Regions from separate parts of the Homo sapiens genome. Here all the other regions are linked to region 1. Evidence: promoter capture Hi-C in human tissues and cell types (Jung and others, 2019). All regions are on one chromosome and are shown on one strand. Each heading gives the region's core, a stretch centred on a gene start or on the middle of the fragment in contact. The rest is flanking DNA. Distances are from core to core; before and after follow the strand shown. Region 1 holds the start of UGT2B15 (UDP glucuronosyltransferase family 2 member B15). Region 2 has its middle 35 kb from the start of UGT2B10. Region 3 overlaps TMPRSS11E (transmembrane serine protease 11E). Region 4 has its middle 47 kb from the start of UGT2A3.

Region 1 (4,397 bases), core at 1,558-4,057:
TCTGGAAATGAACTGAGTCTTTTGTTAGTTTGAGAGAGATCAGTGAGGGAGAAGGGAACATGAACTCTAACAATACCTTCAGTTCCTGCTACTTCCCGAAGGGGGCATTCTAGCACTGGCGCTAAAGTACGGGTGGGGCATGGGCCAAAGATGGTGCCGGAGCTAGTATGGGCAGGAGAGAAGGAAGAAGCCAGAAGGGGTTCCTGCTGAGGGTTTGAAGAGGGAAGGGGGGTTGAGTTGATAGGCATTGGAGGATAGATACGGGTGTAAGGTGGCGGGATGGGTTTACAGGCTCCGTGAGAGGGCTGTAAGGAAGGAGAATGAGTACAGGCAATGCTAGAGTTTTCCTGAGGAGAGGATGGTATAGGAAAAGAAGTGGGTGATGCTGGCTGGGAAGATGGTGGCTGGGAAGATGGTGGCTGAGAAGACAATGAGGAAGCTTGGGGAGTTAATGAAGTTGGTTGAGATGGAGGGGTAGGGTCTGGGAGGGGTGGACAGCAGTCTGCTCCATCCAATGAGGAAAAAGAGGTAGGGTCGGGAGGATAAAGGCAATGAGGGCGGCGAGAATGAAGAAGGATTTGAACAGGTAAGCAAGAATTGCAGAGGTCGGGCTGTGATCTGAGTGCAAAAAGGCCTGGACACAAGGAATTTCTCCCCATTTTCCCAGTCATCTGCAATAACTGCTTAAGTCAGTTAAAACTGTAAAGCTGAGTGTTCCATTTGCGGGCCATTTGGACCCGTTATCTAATTCATACTGCGACCAGGCTTTATCGTATAAAAAAGACAAGGCACTTATGGCAGATATCTTGCCTGAGGCCTAAGGTTTGCAGATTTTTAATGAGGCAGGCTGGAGGGCTGTTTTTTGGAATTGAGGACCGGGAGTTTCCCATAATGAAGGGTAGCTCGAGAGAACAGGGAAAAAGGAGACCATCCTGGACAGCTGGAGGGAGACGATAAAAGGAGTTATCGTCTCCGCTGCCTTTTTGGTTCCTGGAACGGGATGAAATGGCTTAGAGGCATCCCCCTAAGACCAGATGACCAGCGAGTGCCTGGCGCACGCTGGCGCCTTCTTGGATCAGTGTTGGATTTTTGGACTGGAGAAACCAAGAGAGGCCATGTAGATTTTGCCCTGTTAACCGGGCTCCAAGGGAAACTTACCAGTAGGCGAGATCAGTGGCTGATGCGCATGCACAGAGAGGCGACTGGAGGCTGAGGAGCTTCCTCTGTCTAATTGCTGTGGCCTGCTCTCTGGGGTGGAGGGATAGGTCCACAAGCGACACAGACCTGAGCCCCTCCTAGGATTTGGCACCAGATGTAAGGTTCTTGAATCAGTTTGAACCCCAACAGCGCGCCAACAGACAACAGGAGGCGGTGTGGAGCAACATGCTGTTTTAATGAACGCCTGGTTGCAGGTGGGCTGAGGCCTAAAATGGCATCAGCCCCAAGTGAGGATGGGACAGGGGTTTTGTAGTCCTCTGTAAACAGTAAGTGTCCCAGTCTGTTGTGACTGCTATGTAGTACCTGGATGGCCTATTTCTTGATCTTCAGGGGTACATCTCTTCCAGCCAGGGTAAGTGTCTTCTGGCCGGCTCTCTTCCTGCTTCTGCTATCTTGCTGACACACGCTGCTGATGCAAGTGGTCTTGCATCTTGGGGCTGGGCCTGAGAAGGGAGGAGTTACTCATCCCTTCAAGCCTTCAGGTCCTGAGGAGAATCTTTGAACCCCCTGCATCACTGGCCACCCTCCTGATAGATCCCTGTGATGCCAGGCAGGAATGAGCCGCTTGGGTATCCAGAGAGCTCCCAGTGCCTTTCTGCTACTTCCTCTACCCCTGTATTTTGCTTGGCTTGGTTCTCTAATTTGACTCAGCTTCACATAAAGTCAGGAACTTCTCCTGCAAACAGAACTTCAGCTTCTCCAGTGGGGATGTGTATTCTGGAGAGGGGGATCACCCTTTCCCACTTCCATTGTTGGGGCACTCACAGTGTTTGGGATGTCTCCCAGGTCCTGCAGGAGCAGTACTCTTCCTGCAGAGGGTGTGTGGATCCTCTCAGAATTGCTGGTCTGTTCTTGCAGTTGATCTGCAGCTAAAATTCACAATGCAAGCCTCTGCATGCTGCTCTGTCTGGAGCTGCAATCTAGTCCTGCATCCCATCTGCCATGATCACTGGAAAACCCTCATTTATTTTTTAAAGGGTCCAGAAAATGCTAATCTATAGAGATAGAAATTAGATTAGTGGTTGCCTAGGGTAGGATGGATGCAAAATTTCAGAGTGGGGGGTTAGAGGCTATTGTATAGAATCTTTTGGAGATAATACTGATTATTGTAGTGGATGTAAAATTCTGTGAATATACTAGGAAACATTGAACTGTACACACTAATTGGTGAGTCATATGGTATATGAATTATGTGTCAACAAAGTTTTAGAAGACATTACTTGCACCACGATATTAAAAAATGCCGTTTGAGTTGTATAATTACTTCTTCTCTCTATGTCAAGGGCACCGAACAGGCAGGAGCCTCTCACTTGCCACTGTTCTTAACAGTATTATAAAATAATTACATAAGACAGGTTACTTACATATTCTAGGTCATAAAAATTATTGCTTGACTAGAGTAATTGTAAACATAAAAGAACACCAAACACACTAAAATAAATATGAGGTCATCAATCTTTTGTTGGTCTCCTTGGCATGCACCTATTCAGACTGTTAGTATTATGTATTTACTTCAAATTTTAGCAGTTATATTTTAACTTGATTGATTTTTCCTCAGATATAAGTATGAGAAATGACAGAAAGAAACAACAACTGGAAAAGAAGCATTGCATAAGACCAGGATGTCTCTGAAATGGACGTCAGTCTTTCTGCTGATACAGCTCAGTTGTTACTTTAGCTCTGGAAGCTGTGGAAAGGTGCTAGTGTGGCCCACAGAATACAGCCATTGGATAAATATGAAGACAATCCTGGAAGAGCTTGTTCAGAGGGGTCATGAGGTGACTGTGTTGACATCTTCGGCTTCTACTCTTGTCAATGCCAGTAAATCATCTGCTATTAAATTAGAAGTTTATCCTACATCTTTAACTAAAAATTATTTGGAAGATTCTCTTCTGAAAATTCTCGATAGATGGATATATGGTGTTTCAAAAAATACATTTTGGTCATATTTTTCACAATTACAAGAATTGTGTTGGGAATATTATGACTACAGTAACAAGCTCTGTAAAGATGCAGTTTTGAATAAGAAACTTATGATGAAACTACAAGAGTCAAAGTTTGATGTCATTCTGGCAGATGCCCTTAATCCCTGTGGTGAGCTACTGGCTGAACTATTTAACATACCCTTTCTGTACAGTCTTCGATTCTCTGTTGGCTACACATTTGAGAAGAATGGTGGAGGATTTCTGTTCCCTCCTTCCTATGTACCTGTTGTTATGTCAGAATTAAGTGATCAAATGATTTTCATGGAGAGGATAAAAAATATGATACATATGCTTTATTTTGACTTTTGGTTTCAAATTTATGATCTGAAGAAGTGGGACCAGTTTTATAGTGAAGTTCTAGGTAAGTCATGTGTCTAACTGGTGCTTATTAAGTTCTAACTTTTCTGTGCCTTTGAAGGTGAGCTTATATAAATATAATGTCAGAAGATAGTGTTTTTAAGGGAAATTATGAATTGCAAATGTAAGATGATCTATCAGTCTCAAAAATATTATAGAATGTTGACCTTATAGAATCAGTTAGAACCCTGGGGCCATCACTACTACAGGACACCCAGAGAGTCATAAACCTTCATTGTAAAGCACTAATGATTTCTTTAAACTATCACATATCATTTTGCTATACATTTTTTCATCTTTAAAAAAAGTCAATAGATACCTCAAGAAACATCTTCATGAAGGCAGACACATAAATTTAGTATTTACACATATTTCTAGAAAAATTATCAATGCAGGATTGAGGAATTTGTTTCTCTTTGAGTTCCTCAGTTTCCTCATTTAGAAATTAAATTTTGTTTTTCATGTAAGAAGGATTCCTTCACAGTTGAGTAATATAGTGGCTCTACTCCAGAAACAGAAGCCTAAAACTTGAGATTTCTAATGTTTATACATTCCTTCAATAACAGGTTGACAATTATTTCTTTCAAAAACTGAAATCTTGTTGAAAGTGAACATCTAAGTTTTAATCTATATTTTATTAAACTGCATCTCTCCATCAAAGAAAATAGGGGCCAAATTAAGGGAGAGCACATATCTCTATGTCAATAAATTCTGAAAATGTTTTAATTCTCATTTGTAAATATATTTATTTTAAAAATCTAATTATATTAAGATCTTAAGATGAACCAAGACAGTAGTAGGTGTAAAGATTTCAGTGTTGAGCTCAAAAAACTCATG
Region 2 (4,253 bases), core at 311-2,810, 180 kb before region 1:
CTGAAGTTATTTTTAACACTCACATAAAAACTAAATTTTAAAAATTTGTAAATTATGCACTAGTTTATGATGATTTCCTGGTAATTCCAAAATCAGTACCTCATTATGGTACTAGGCATGTACCAAATGGCTTAGCTATAGACAACCATATTAAACACTGCTGTCAATGCTTTGGAGTATGTCATCGAAGATTTAACAGTCTTTGAATAAAATTTAGCATCATTGCATTTTAGAATTTTTTTCAACAGCACTATTATTTATAAGATGCCAATCATTCTTTCTCATATCTAAAAATGTCCATGCTAACAAATGTAATAATATTATGGATATACATGAAAAATGCCACTTGAAATTTTTTATCTTTATATGTAATTCCTAAGCAGAATTAATTTATTTCTCATACAGAGAGGATTACATAGATTTGCTTTGTTTGTAAATCAAAAGATGTCAGACTGTAACTATGGAACAAGTGGATATAAGTAAACTGTCTCCCATTTCATTGTTTTAAAAATAAAAAAGCTTAATAATAAATTTGGAAGAAGAGAGTGAGTATAGTACAAACATTAATTTAAAAAGTGTGGACCATTATTAATTTGTTACTCTTCTTCACACCAGAATTATGACTGTCTAACAATTAAATACTTGAATTTTTCATTTATTATCTCAATTGTTTAAGTCACTATGTATGAAATATTATGATTGCATTTAAACTGATCTAATGTAAAAATAAGTCCAGGAAATATAGTTGTTCTGCTTACTTCAGTCTTCTAGTAGTTCTCATTAATTAACCTGTCCTATTCTGTTTTCTTTGTCTGCTATATAGAAGGCATTTAGTAGGGTTCTCAGTCTTTTTAGAATTCTAACAAATATGGTTTAATTTGAATTTGACTCAGAACAAAGTATTTTCTTTATATAAATGATCACATGGAAATTTGATGACAGGAAATCAGATACCTTAGTATCAATACTTCGCTGTATAGTGGGTAGTCCAGAATGGCCTTGGTGAGACTCTGAAGAACAAAGATTGAAAACATGGCTAACAGCCAATCATGATGAAAATACTTCAACAGAAAAAAAACAGATTCACCATTTATTATTTAAAAACTCAAAAATAAAATCTAGCATGTTTATATTTATGTTCCAGTCCTGGGGGAAAAATACAATTAATTACAACAGTTACCATTTTTTTTATACACAGTTACGTTCTTTATGGCTAGAACAAATTATCTTTATTTCTATTTCAACTGTAGTTACCTCTTAAACAATAAAAGTTCAATAATTTTCTAGGTTGTCTGTCTCCTAATTCAATCATTACAAACACCCTTTCTCCTTATGTAGGGATATTTCAGTTGCAACTGAAAAATAACAGCCTGTCTTTTATTTCCAGTGACAGCATTTTATATGGGAAAAAATCCCCAGTCTTTATCATGAAGTGGTAACACACTTCATACTGGAGTGTCGCCTATACTTCACTTTGGTGGTTTTAGTGGAAATGTTTATCAGAGGTTCTAGGCTAGTGCATAAGTTTTAAAATAGTCAAAAATGAAATAGGAATTGCTGAAGATGGTAACAACACATTATAAAGAAGACTGAGAACAAAGTTGAAGCAGGGAAACATAAATATTATTAGAGTACTGTCTAGTTTTCACCATGTTTATGCCAGTCTTTCAGCATGAGAGCTCATCAAATGTTATTTTTCTGGATAAATTTTATTTGGTATATATAATGTATACGAGATGCTATCATCAGATGCAAATATGTAGTGAAAAGGTTGCTATAATGAAGCAGGTAAGCATGTGTCAATCATCTCACATTAGTTACTCAATTTTTTTATTGTTTTTAAAACTCTTCCAAAATGCTTTATTTTCAGTAAATTGGCATGACATAATCAATCACTAGTTCCTCTTCTATTTAATTATAAGGAAATAATTATGATGTTAATATTTTTAATCCCATCACTGATGAATTGTAAACCACTACGCCTTTCAAATTTACCTGTTTAAAACAATTGAAAAAAATAAGATACTAGTATAAAAGTGACCATATTCTTTGTTATTGTGGTTGTGGTTGCTTTTGTCTCATTTGAAATAATTATAAAATAACGGGCTTGAAAGAGATAAATTGGAATATTTCTGTTTAACAGCCAAAATGTCTGAAACCAGAAATTTGTTGTTTTTAAATTATTTCAGTACACACAATAATTTTAGTTATGCTATTTTATTAATAGTTACATTAACAAAAATTAAATAATTTTAATATTTACTATTATGTTTTTAATATTAATTTTAATAAACTCATTCTGGTGTTGAAAAATAAAGATAATTTTTGAATAGTTAACACATATTGAATGTATATGAAATGACATGCATTGTATTGGTTCTTTGTATTATGTAACTTCTTGATTATAGTTTTTTACAATTGTATTAAAAACATAAATCAGGATTAATGTCACCCTCTGAAAAACACAGTCTTCCCACTGTGATCTTTAAATAACAAGAACAGAAGTTACCTCCATTGCTATTGCTACAGTGCTATGCATTAACACTTCATAATTTTAACTTGGTAAGCATATACTTATATCCATCCTTATTATTTGTCTATTAGTCCATAATTATTTTAACACTAAATGCCTCAAAGCATTCAATGCAATGTCTCAAAGTAAAATATTGAACTCTTCTTAAATTCTAAAATCAAAATACAACAAGAAAAAACGGTGATAGTAGCAAACATTTACTAAGAATCTCTTTATGATGAGAATAATTTCAGCAAGTATTCTAAGAACCATTGCATGGCTACTCACAATAACCAGATAAGAAAGATATATGATTTTTATTCATTCAATTTAACAGTAAAATCTAGGAAGAGATGTGCTTTTTTTACTCATAGTCAGCATATATATATATAATTGACTACAGTATATTTTTCAGTATTTCGTTATAAAATTTGCATACAACGAAATGCATGTATCTTCACTATACATTTTTTGAGTTTCAACAAATGCTTACACCTCTATAAACCCAAACCCATAAGACATTATTATGACCACACAAATGTCCCTTCATGCCTCTTTGCAGTCCAACTCAGCCCTTGCTTCCCAGAGGAGATTGTTTTAGAATATCTTATATATGAAATTATGCATTCAGTATGTACTCTTTTGTGGCTAGTTTCCACTCAGCCTAACATGTTTTGGATTCATCTGTATTGTTGCGTGTCACAGATGTATATGAGTATACTGCATATTCTGCACCTCGTTTGTTTATTCATTCTCCAATTGGTGGATACTTGGATTGTTTCTACAGTGTCTTGTGAGTGGGAGTTTTCACTGTTGTCATTTGTTTATGAAGTCTAATTTATTATTTTATTATTTTTTCTTTTATGCTTTTTCTGTAATCTGTCTAAGAAAGCTTTGCCTGCTGCCAAGTAATCAAGGGAGATGGCTCCTATTTTTCTCTAAAAGCTTTATGTTTGGGTTTGGTAATCCTTTTCTTTTGTTTTGAGACAGGGTCTCTCTCTCTGTTGCACAGGCTGAAATGCAGTGGTGACATTGAAGCTTACTGTAACCTCTGACTCCTAGGCTCTAGGGATCCTCCCACCTCAGCCTGCTGAGTAGCTAGGACTACAGGAACACCACAACACTAGGCTAATTTTTTAAGAAGTTTTTTGTAGAGACAATTTATTCTTTATTTTTAAAATTTTTTTTATTATACTTTAAGTTCTGGGATACATGTGCAGAATGTGCAGGTTGGTTACATAGGTATACATGTGCCGTGGTGGTTTGCTGCACCCATCAACCTGTCATCTACATTAGGTATTTCTCCTAATGCTATTTCTCCCCTACCCTTCTACCCCCTGACAGGCCCCAGTGTGTGATGTTCCCCTCCCTGTGTCCATGTGTACTCAATGTTCAACTCCCACTTATGAGTGAGAGCATGCGGTGTTTTATTTTCTGTTCTTGTGTTAGTTTGCTGAGAATGATGGTTTCCAGCTTCATCCATGTCCCTGCAAATGACATGAGCTCAGCCTTTTTTATGGCTGCATAGTATTCCATGGTGTATATGTGCCACTTTATTCAACCTATCATTGATGGAAATTTGGGTTGGTTCCAAGTCTTTGCTATTGTGAACAGTGCCACAATAAATGTACGTGTGCATGTATCTTCATAGTAGAATGATTTATAAGCTTTTGGGTATATACTCAGTAATGGGATCACTGGGTCGAATGATATTTCTTGTTCTAGATCCTTGAGGAATCAC
Region 3 (3,978 bases), core at 328-2,827, 180 kb after region 1:
AGTCTGGTGTGGTGGCGGTTGCCTGTAATCTCAGCTACTCAGGAGGCTGAGGCGAGAGAATAGCTTAAATCCAGAAGGTGGAGGTTGCAGTGAGCCGAGATCACACCACTGCACTCCAGCCTGGGTAACAAGCATGAAACTCCATCCCTCCCCCCCAAAAAAATGGGTGCCATGTCTTCCCAGAGATAAGAAAGTAGAATATTGTAATCATAGGGCAAATTTGGCTTCTCTTCTGTAGCTCACAAAGTTTGTAAAGCGTGTACCTCTAATATCACCATCAAAATAGTATTTTTGAATGGGGACATTTTCAGATGAAAGTATATAACATCTGGGATTAACTTCAAAATAGATTTGATATTTTGGTAGGGAAAGGGGATGAGGGGATTTTATCAGGGTATGTACGGATAACGTAAGGTTGGCCATGAGTTGTAAATTTTTGAACTAGGTGATGAGTACATGAAAGTTCATTATTTTATCCTCCCTATTTTTGCATACCATTGAAATTTTTATAATAAAAATTATAAAATAAAAGATTAAGAGGGCATACATCTGTTTCTCTGAAATTTTTAGGAAGGACATTACTATAGAGACTATAGAAACCGAGATAGTTGAATAAAGAAAATAATGGATGATCATAAATGTAAAAGTGCACGATGTTTTCAACAGTTTCAGGAAAGTTGGAGGCAAGTAGGATGATGATGATTAGGACAAAAGAAGGTCTAGCATAATATCTAAACCATCAATGATTCCATGACCGTCAAGAAGACAAATAAAATACAGGTTATTCTCATTATTCATGGTAGTCGTGTTCTGTGAAGTCACCACAAATGCTGAATTAATGACTGTTGAGTCCTTGTTCTTAGGAGAAATACAGGGTTGGTTTTCCAGGAGACTCTGGTCACATTTTTGTCAACTGCTCAAGACATAAACAGATTTCGTGTGTGTTTCTGTTTAAAGACGTTCTATTTAATATACATTGTTGATTCATTAACATTAAACTCACAGTAAACACCGCTAAAACTTATAACTAAACAAAGCTTACCAAATATACATATTTTCTCCATATGGCACATCACAACCTTCTTGCACTATACTTTGGCACTACAGTTGGGGACTATTTTAAACAGCAAAATCGCCAGCAAAGATAATAAAAATGTGAAAAATGTAGCACTATGTAGACCAAGAAAAGACACTTGTTTACAGAATGAGAACTGAAACAAAAAGGCACAGTATCACATTTTTCAACCTCAGGTAAGAATATGCTCATTGAGTAATAAGATATTTTGCCACTCTGTGCATGCTTGTGAATGATCATAAAAGTGCCTTGAGTATTGATTTGGGGGTTACAAATAAATTTTAGTGAGTAGGTGAATTTGCAAATATGGAATCTGCAAATAACAAGGATCAAGTATATTTTCAAGTCATCTTTTAAGTTGAATTCATTTCAGGAGATTGAATTACAGAATCAATTTCAATTGTTAGGAAGGAATTTTTAGTAGTGTGTGGTAATGGGACCAATCTACTTTGTTCCGTGTGTTCCTCCAGGAGCAATTAGGAAACACAGAAAAAGAAACAAAATGAAGTGAGTCTAAACTTGGGCATTTGCCAGAGTATAAACAAAGGTCAACTGAATAAAAGAATTTAATGTAGCAAACTGAACATTGCTAAAACGACTAACCCAAAGGTAAAAGTTGGGAAAGAACTATAGTGATGCCAACAGGGAATTAAATGAGGTGGAGCAAATGAAGGCAATACAGATAGTGTTCATGCGAAAGCATGAAAGGAATAACATTAAAAATTGTAAAAAAAAATCTTAGAAATTAATGGTACCATTTTATGAATACAGATTAGAAAGCACACAGAGTAACATGGAATTCTGAAGAGAACTATAGGGCTTAGAAAGCACATTAAACAAAAATTCTGTCAAATCACAAAATGAAAATTATGAAAGCATTTAGTGACACACAGAAGGAACCAGTTATTGGCCCCCTCCATGATTTTGTGAGTGATGCACATGAAGACATAGAGGTCAAAATTTTTGTATCCACCAAAGGCACAAAATTGGTGGCAATAGCCAAACACTGGAAAACAAAACCCGGCTTCAAAAATATGTAAACGCTCCAGACCAATATGGGACAGACTTACTTATTCTTTTTTCCCCAGCTAAATATGGCTAAAACAAACAAAAAAATACCTGGGCATTACAAATAAAACAAACATAAAAAGACTCTGAAAATTAGAGAGAAGACGACAGGTGGGCTCAGAAATGCAGGACAAAAGGAATGATACAAGAGTGAGCTCTCTCAATTTTTTTTTTTTTTTTTTTTTTTTTGCTTCATATATCATGGACTTGGAAGAAGCCAGCAACCTGGCAACCTGCCAACAAGTGCAAGTTTTTTAAAAGGCTCCAAGAAAATCCTGCTCTCCCTAGTAAAATAATCAATAAGAGGACAACTTGGGAAAACAGCAAATCCAGGAAGACAATAAATCCCAACTGAAAAGACTTCCATGCTTACCAGGCTGTAAGAAGGCCCAATTCCCTACTAGATTGGTGTCAGAATATGCTGAATAGGCACCAGGTGCAGTGGCTCACACTCGTAATCCCAGCACGTTGGAAGGCTGAAGCAGGTGGATGACCTGAAATCAGGAGTTTCAGACCAGCCTAGCAAACATGGCAAAACGCCGTCTCTACTAAAAATACAAAAATTAGTCAGGTGTCGTGGCACATGCCTTTAATCTCAGCTACTCAGGAGGCTGAGGCAGGAGAATTGCTGGAACCTAGGAGGCAGAGGTTGCAGTGAGCCAAGATGGCACCACTGCACTCCAGCCTGGGCAACAAGCGAGACTCCACCTCAAAAAAAAAAAAAAAAAAAAAAAAAAGAATATGCTGAGTGGGAAGCATGAACTACCACCCAGTAATGAGGAATAACTCTCCCCATCTACTAGAACCATGTCTGAGGAGAGGTAGTGGGAAGTCAAGTCTTTCACCACTGCGAAGCAGTAATGAAATCACTACCCCATGATGTCAGTGGAGGCCAAAAGGGGAGCAGTAACAAAGTACCTTCAGCCAGAGTGTTATCAGAAGAGGCCTAACCTCCATGCAGTAGTAATGAGCATTAGTCCCTCACCTGAGCATCAAAGGAAGCTGAGTGGGAAATGAGGCAATTCCTTCATACATCCCCCTCCCTCTGCATCACAATGTCTGCTGAGGCATGGTTAAATAGAAAATTTAAATAAGATCTAGAGTTTTAAATAATAATAATTTAATTTTTTCAAATTATTATTATTTCATTATTTAATAAATACTAAAACAAAATGGCCGACCAGACGCAGACAAGAAGACCTTCTCCCAGTGAGGGACCAGACCATCAAGAAGACTGGCACACTCTGAACAAATTTTCAGAAAGAAGGCATTGAGAGTTGATGGAAGGAGAATGCAGACCCCAGGCTGAAAGGGAAGGAAGCTGGTAACCCTGCACAGGGTTGCCAAGCACCAGAACTTGTTCCTGGCCTGGAGAGGCTCCTGGGGAAGGAGTAAGTTAAATGGTCATGGAGTGGCCAACTCACACCACAGACCTCCAGAATCTTAGCTGCAGGAGACCCCTCATCCCCCATGGACAGTTAAGGTGGCAGGGAGAACAGCCTGGAGAGTTGAAAGAGACAGAATTCTAGCCTGCACAGAGTCCACAGGGTTTGGCATGAGAATGGCTACAGCAGAGCATGGCATGGGTGCCCATCCCCCAAATATCATACATCTCTAGGTGGCTTTCGCCTTTGTTGATGGACAGACCTGGACATCACAGGGCTCTCTTGCTTGTGGGATGGGAACAATCTGATCCAAGCACTCGCTTGTCTGCTGGCCTATGCCAAATTCCCTGCCTGGCTACACAAACTTGCAGCACTGCCTCAGCTGCCCAGCCAAGGCATTTTTTGACAGCCACAGCCATTGCTATTTTGATGGCAGACCCTGCCTAACAG
Region 4 (3,919 bases), core at 640-3,139, 230 kb before region 1:
TTTTTAAAGTGTGTATAAAAGTCAAGTGCTGTCTTTGTTGGGGGCCCCATCTTTGGATGGTAAGTCCGTTGGGTCTGAGTGTACTCAATAAAGATATCCTCCTCTATATACCCCAAGGTCTCTCTCGGGTCCTCCTGATCCGCTACACACCTGGTGACCCACATGGGACTGAGAGACTGCAGCTTGGCTGGCTTCTTTGCCTGTGGGCGGTCTGGGGCCTCGGCTGTGGGAGACCCTTAACTTCAGGACCCATCAAGGGAACTTAAGCCCAGAGAAAGGAGCTGTTCTCCCGCGTCCCCGGTGCCCCTCCCCTGACAGCACAAGGGAACCCGGAGGGGTTGCAGGACGGTTCCAGGAATGGCGCCCTTTCTTCAGAACCATGGTAAAGTTTTGGGGCCCAAGGCAGGACCTATCCCATAAGGACAGAAGGGGAGCCTGATCACCTCCCAGGGAGTGACAACTAATCCAACACAGAGAGGCTGGGGGACGGTGAGAGTGGCTCACAAATTTGGATGAAACTCACACCCCAACCAACACAGGACGCGAGAGTGGCTCGCTAAGTTAGTTCAGAAGGAAACTGGATGCAGTGAGAGCGGTTCACTGCCCCAACCAGGATAGGGAACTGGGAGCGGGGAAGTGTGTGAGTGCGTGTGAAAGAGACAGTTCTGGGAGGAACCAACGGGAATGACATGTGTGGAGCTGCTGATCTCTTAGTGTAGGCTGTACGCTCCGAGCAAAATGTAGGACCAACCGGGTCCAATCGGTCTAAAACAAAAGGAAAGGTGAATGTGCTGCATCATAACTGGGAGGAAATGGGAGGAAAATCGTGGAAACCCACCCCATTGGAATGTATGTTAAAGAACTTTAAGAAAGGCTTTGCAGGGGTTGAGGGAGTCAAGTTAACCCCTCAGATGCTGAGAGCTCTCTGTGAATTAGAATAGCCCTTTTTTGGTGTTGGCTGGCCTGCCAAATGTGCTACAGATAGGGAGAAAATTGGCCGTGTGTTTAAGGTGGTGACCTGAGTTGGAGGACAGTCAGATAATTCAGACCAAATTTCCTTATATTAACTCATGGCTGAATGCAGCCCTGTTTAGCAGCTTATTGAAGAATGCTCACAGCTCAAGCCAAGAGAAATCAATTGTGCTGCCAGCTACAAAGACAAAGTGAAAGCTTCGCCTGTAAACAGAGTTAAAGGGAAAGTCACAGGAGCTTGTAGCGTGAGCAAACAGAGACAAAAAGAAAGCCACAGGAAAAACCAGTTTTTCAAGAACCACTGGAGGGAAAAGAGACCCCTCCTCCATATGTTCCAATCTACCCCCGCTTTCCCCAGGTTAACTGCCTCTGAGGAGTCAAGCTCAAATGGATACATGCCCCCAGTCTCTCTTGAGAGGGAAAAATCTGAGCCCTCACTCCAGGAAGTTAAGGTGAAATGCTAGGAAAAACAGGCAAGCCACCTCCAGTCAGGTTGTGTTAGGGCTATGCAAATGCCTCTCCTGGAAACTAGAGGACCCCCACTAGAACCCAAAGGAATGAGGCAGCCCAACTATAGCAGCTGCCAAGATACCAAGAGGCACTCCTGCAAAATTTAAGGGAAGGCGGGAGACAGGCAATCAATATAGGAAAAATCTCAGAGGGGCATCAGGGTGCAGATGAAAGCCCCAGCCATTTTTATAAAAGACTTGGTGAGGCCAGTGCATGATGAACATGGCATTTGTAGAGCAGGCCCAGGGGGATATCCAGTGAAAATTGCAGAAAATGGAAGGTTTTAAAGGGATGAATGCTACTCAGCTTATTGAAGTGGCCACGAAGGTGTACATTAACCAAGATCAGGAGGCAAAGAGGGAGGCTAATAGAAGGCTTGAGAAAAAGGCTGATTTGCTGGCAGCATCCCTCATGGATGTGGGTATGGACATGGGCATGGAAGAGGCCAGTCTGGACAGGGATTTGAGGGCCAGCCGAGGCTGGAAAGAGATCAGTGTGAGCGGTGCAAAAGAAAAGGACACTGGAAGGATGAGTGTCCAGAGAATAATAACAAGGAGGACAGTCAGGGCATTCAGACCAAATTTCCTTATGTTAACTCATGGCTGAATGCAGCCCTGTTTAGCAGCTTATTGCAGGATACTCGCAGGTCGAGCTGAGAGAAATCACCTGTGCTGGCAGCTGCAAAGACAAAGTGAAAGCTTCGCCTGTAAACACAGAGTTAAAGGGAAAGTCACAGGAGCTTGTAGGTTGAGCTGAGCAAAAAGTGAAAGCTTCTCCGGCAAACACAGAGACAAAAAGAAAGCCACAGGAAAAACCAATTTTGCAAGAACCACTGGAGGGAAAAGAGACCCCAGGGCAGTAGTATAGGAAGGCCACCTACTGGTGGCTGCCACACCAGGGAGGAACCAGACATCGATCTGATTGGACTGGCAGGGGCTGAAGGATATGAGGGTAGGACAGACCAGGCTGCTTCTCTTTGGGACCCGAGGAGCCCATGGTCAGATTAGAAGTTAGAGGCCAGCTAATGGACTTTACGGTAGACACCAGAACTAAACACTTAGTAGTGACCTGACCTATAGAGCCACAATCCAAGAACTGTGCAACTATTGTAGGAGCCACTGGAGTCTCTGAAAAGTGGCCTGTCGGTCAAAGAGGTGTGTTATAGGAGGATGAGAAGTCCAAAATGAATTCCTATACCTCCTAAATTGTCCAGTTTCTTTGCTGGGAAGAGACCTACTTCAAAAACTGCAGGCACAGATTACATTTGGGCCGCAAGGGAATGTAACTTTAAACGTAGTTTGCCCAGAGGCTATGATGTTAACCCTCACTGTCCTGCAGGCTGAGAAATGGAGACTATGCAAAAAAGACTCCGGAACCAGGAGTAAATGAAATGCATGGGTTACTTACTAAAATTCCCAGAGTTTGGGCTGAAAGTAATCCACCTGGACTGGTGCCAGCGTAAATCAGGCACCGGTGGTGGTAGAGTTAAAACTGGGAGAAACTCCGGTTCGGGTCCGACAGTACTCGCTACTCCCTGAGGACATACGGGGTGTCCACAAACATTTAGAGTGGCTTCATAAGCATGGAATCATAGCCAAATGCCAGTCACCATGGAACAACATTCTCTTGCCAGTGCGGAAGCCGTCTGGGGAATATAGGCCAGTACAGGATTTGCATTCAGAAAACCAGGCCACAGTGACCATCCACCCAGTGGTGTCAAACCTGCATACCTTAATGGGACATATTCCAGCAAGTGCCACTTGATTTACAGTCCTAGATTTAAAGAATGCATTTTTCTGTCTCCAGTTTGCACCAATTAGTCAGGCTAGTTTTGTTTTTCAATGGGGGTAAATCACAGTACACTTGGACAAGATTCCCACAAGGATTTAAAAACTCCACTACAATCTTTGAAGAGGCACTGGCCTCAGATCTTAAAGTCTACACCCCACCGAATAGTTACTGTGTCTTGCTCCAGTACATTGATGATCTTCTTCTAGCAGCCCCAACTCAAGAGGACTGCTTCCAAGGGACCCAAGACCTCCTGCACCTGCTATGGAAGGCAGGATATAAAGTGTCAGGGAAAAAGGCTCAAATTTGCTTTGAAAGTTTCCAATATTTAGGCTTCTATATAAGCTAAGGGAAAAGATGGCTTGGTTGTGAATGGAAGCAGGTGGTTTGTGCACTTCCTACTCCAACCACCTGGTGAAAAATAAGAGAGTTCCTAGGGGTAGCAGGGCTCTGCCACATCTGGATCCCAAATTTCTCACTCATGGCTAAGCTATTATATGAAACCACAAAGTGGGGGAAAAGGAGACCATCCTCTGGGAGGCCAACCAGGAGAAGGCCTTTAAGGAAATCAAAGAAGCCTTGACTCTGGTCCCAGCTTTAGGACTGACAGATCTAACGAAGCCTTTCTTTTTATATGTCCACGAGCAAA

What was found. Contacts are between HindIII fragments. The study calls those that stand out against the background at their distance.
Region 2: a fragment that was not itself captured here is called in contact with the fragment with the promoter of UGT2B15 in region 1 in 2 of the 25 tissues and cell types used here (bladder and mesenchymal stem cells).
Region 3: a contact is called between a fragment that was not itself captured here and the fragment with the promoter of UGT2B15 in region 1, in 1 of the 25 tissues and cell types used here (H1 embryonic stem cells).
Region 4: a contact is called between a fragment that was not itself captured here and the fragment with the promoter of UGT2B15 in region 1, in 2 of the 25 tissues and cell types used here (liver and mesenchymal stem cells).

Annotation. Positions count from the first base shown.
Region 1 is chr4:68,669,062-68,673,458 of GRCh38, reverse strand. It overlaps UGT2B15 (UDP glucuronosyltransferase family 2 member B15), which reads left to right and starts at 2,807. Exons shown (of 6, transcript NM_001076.4): 1 at 2,807-3,564. The coding sequence starts at 2,841. The HindIII fragment of the contact is 11,998 bases long and covers 1-4,397 here.
Region 2 is chr4:68,849,123-68,853,375 of GRCh38, reverse strand. No RefSeq gene overlaps it. Among named protein-coding and RNA genes, the nearest start is that of UGT2B10, 35 kb to the right of the region's middle. The HindIII fragment of the contact is 6,022 bases long and covers 1-4,253 here.
Region 3 is chr4:68,489,654-68,493,631 of GRCh38, reverse strand. The region is part of intron 9 of TMPRSS11E (transmembrane serine protease 11E); the gene reads right to left. Among named protein-coding and RNA genes, the nearest start is that of TMPRSS11E, 44 kb to the right of the region's middle. The HindIII fragment of the contact is 3,834 bases long and covers 1-3,494 here.
Region 4 is chr4:68,903,338-68,907,256 of GRCh38, reverse strand. It overlaps the pseudogene LOC101930041. Among named protein-coding and RNA genes, the nearest start is that of UGT2A3, 47 kb to the left of the region's middle. RefSeq lists enhancers at 1-729, 730-1,621, 2,513-3,405. The HindIII fragment of the contact is 4,602 bases long and covers 1-3,919 here.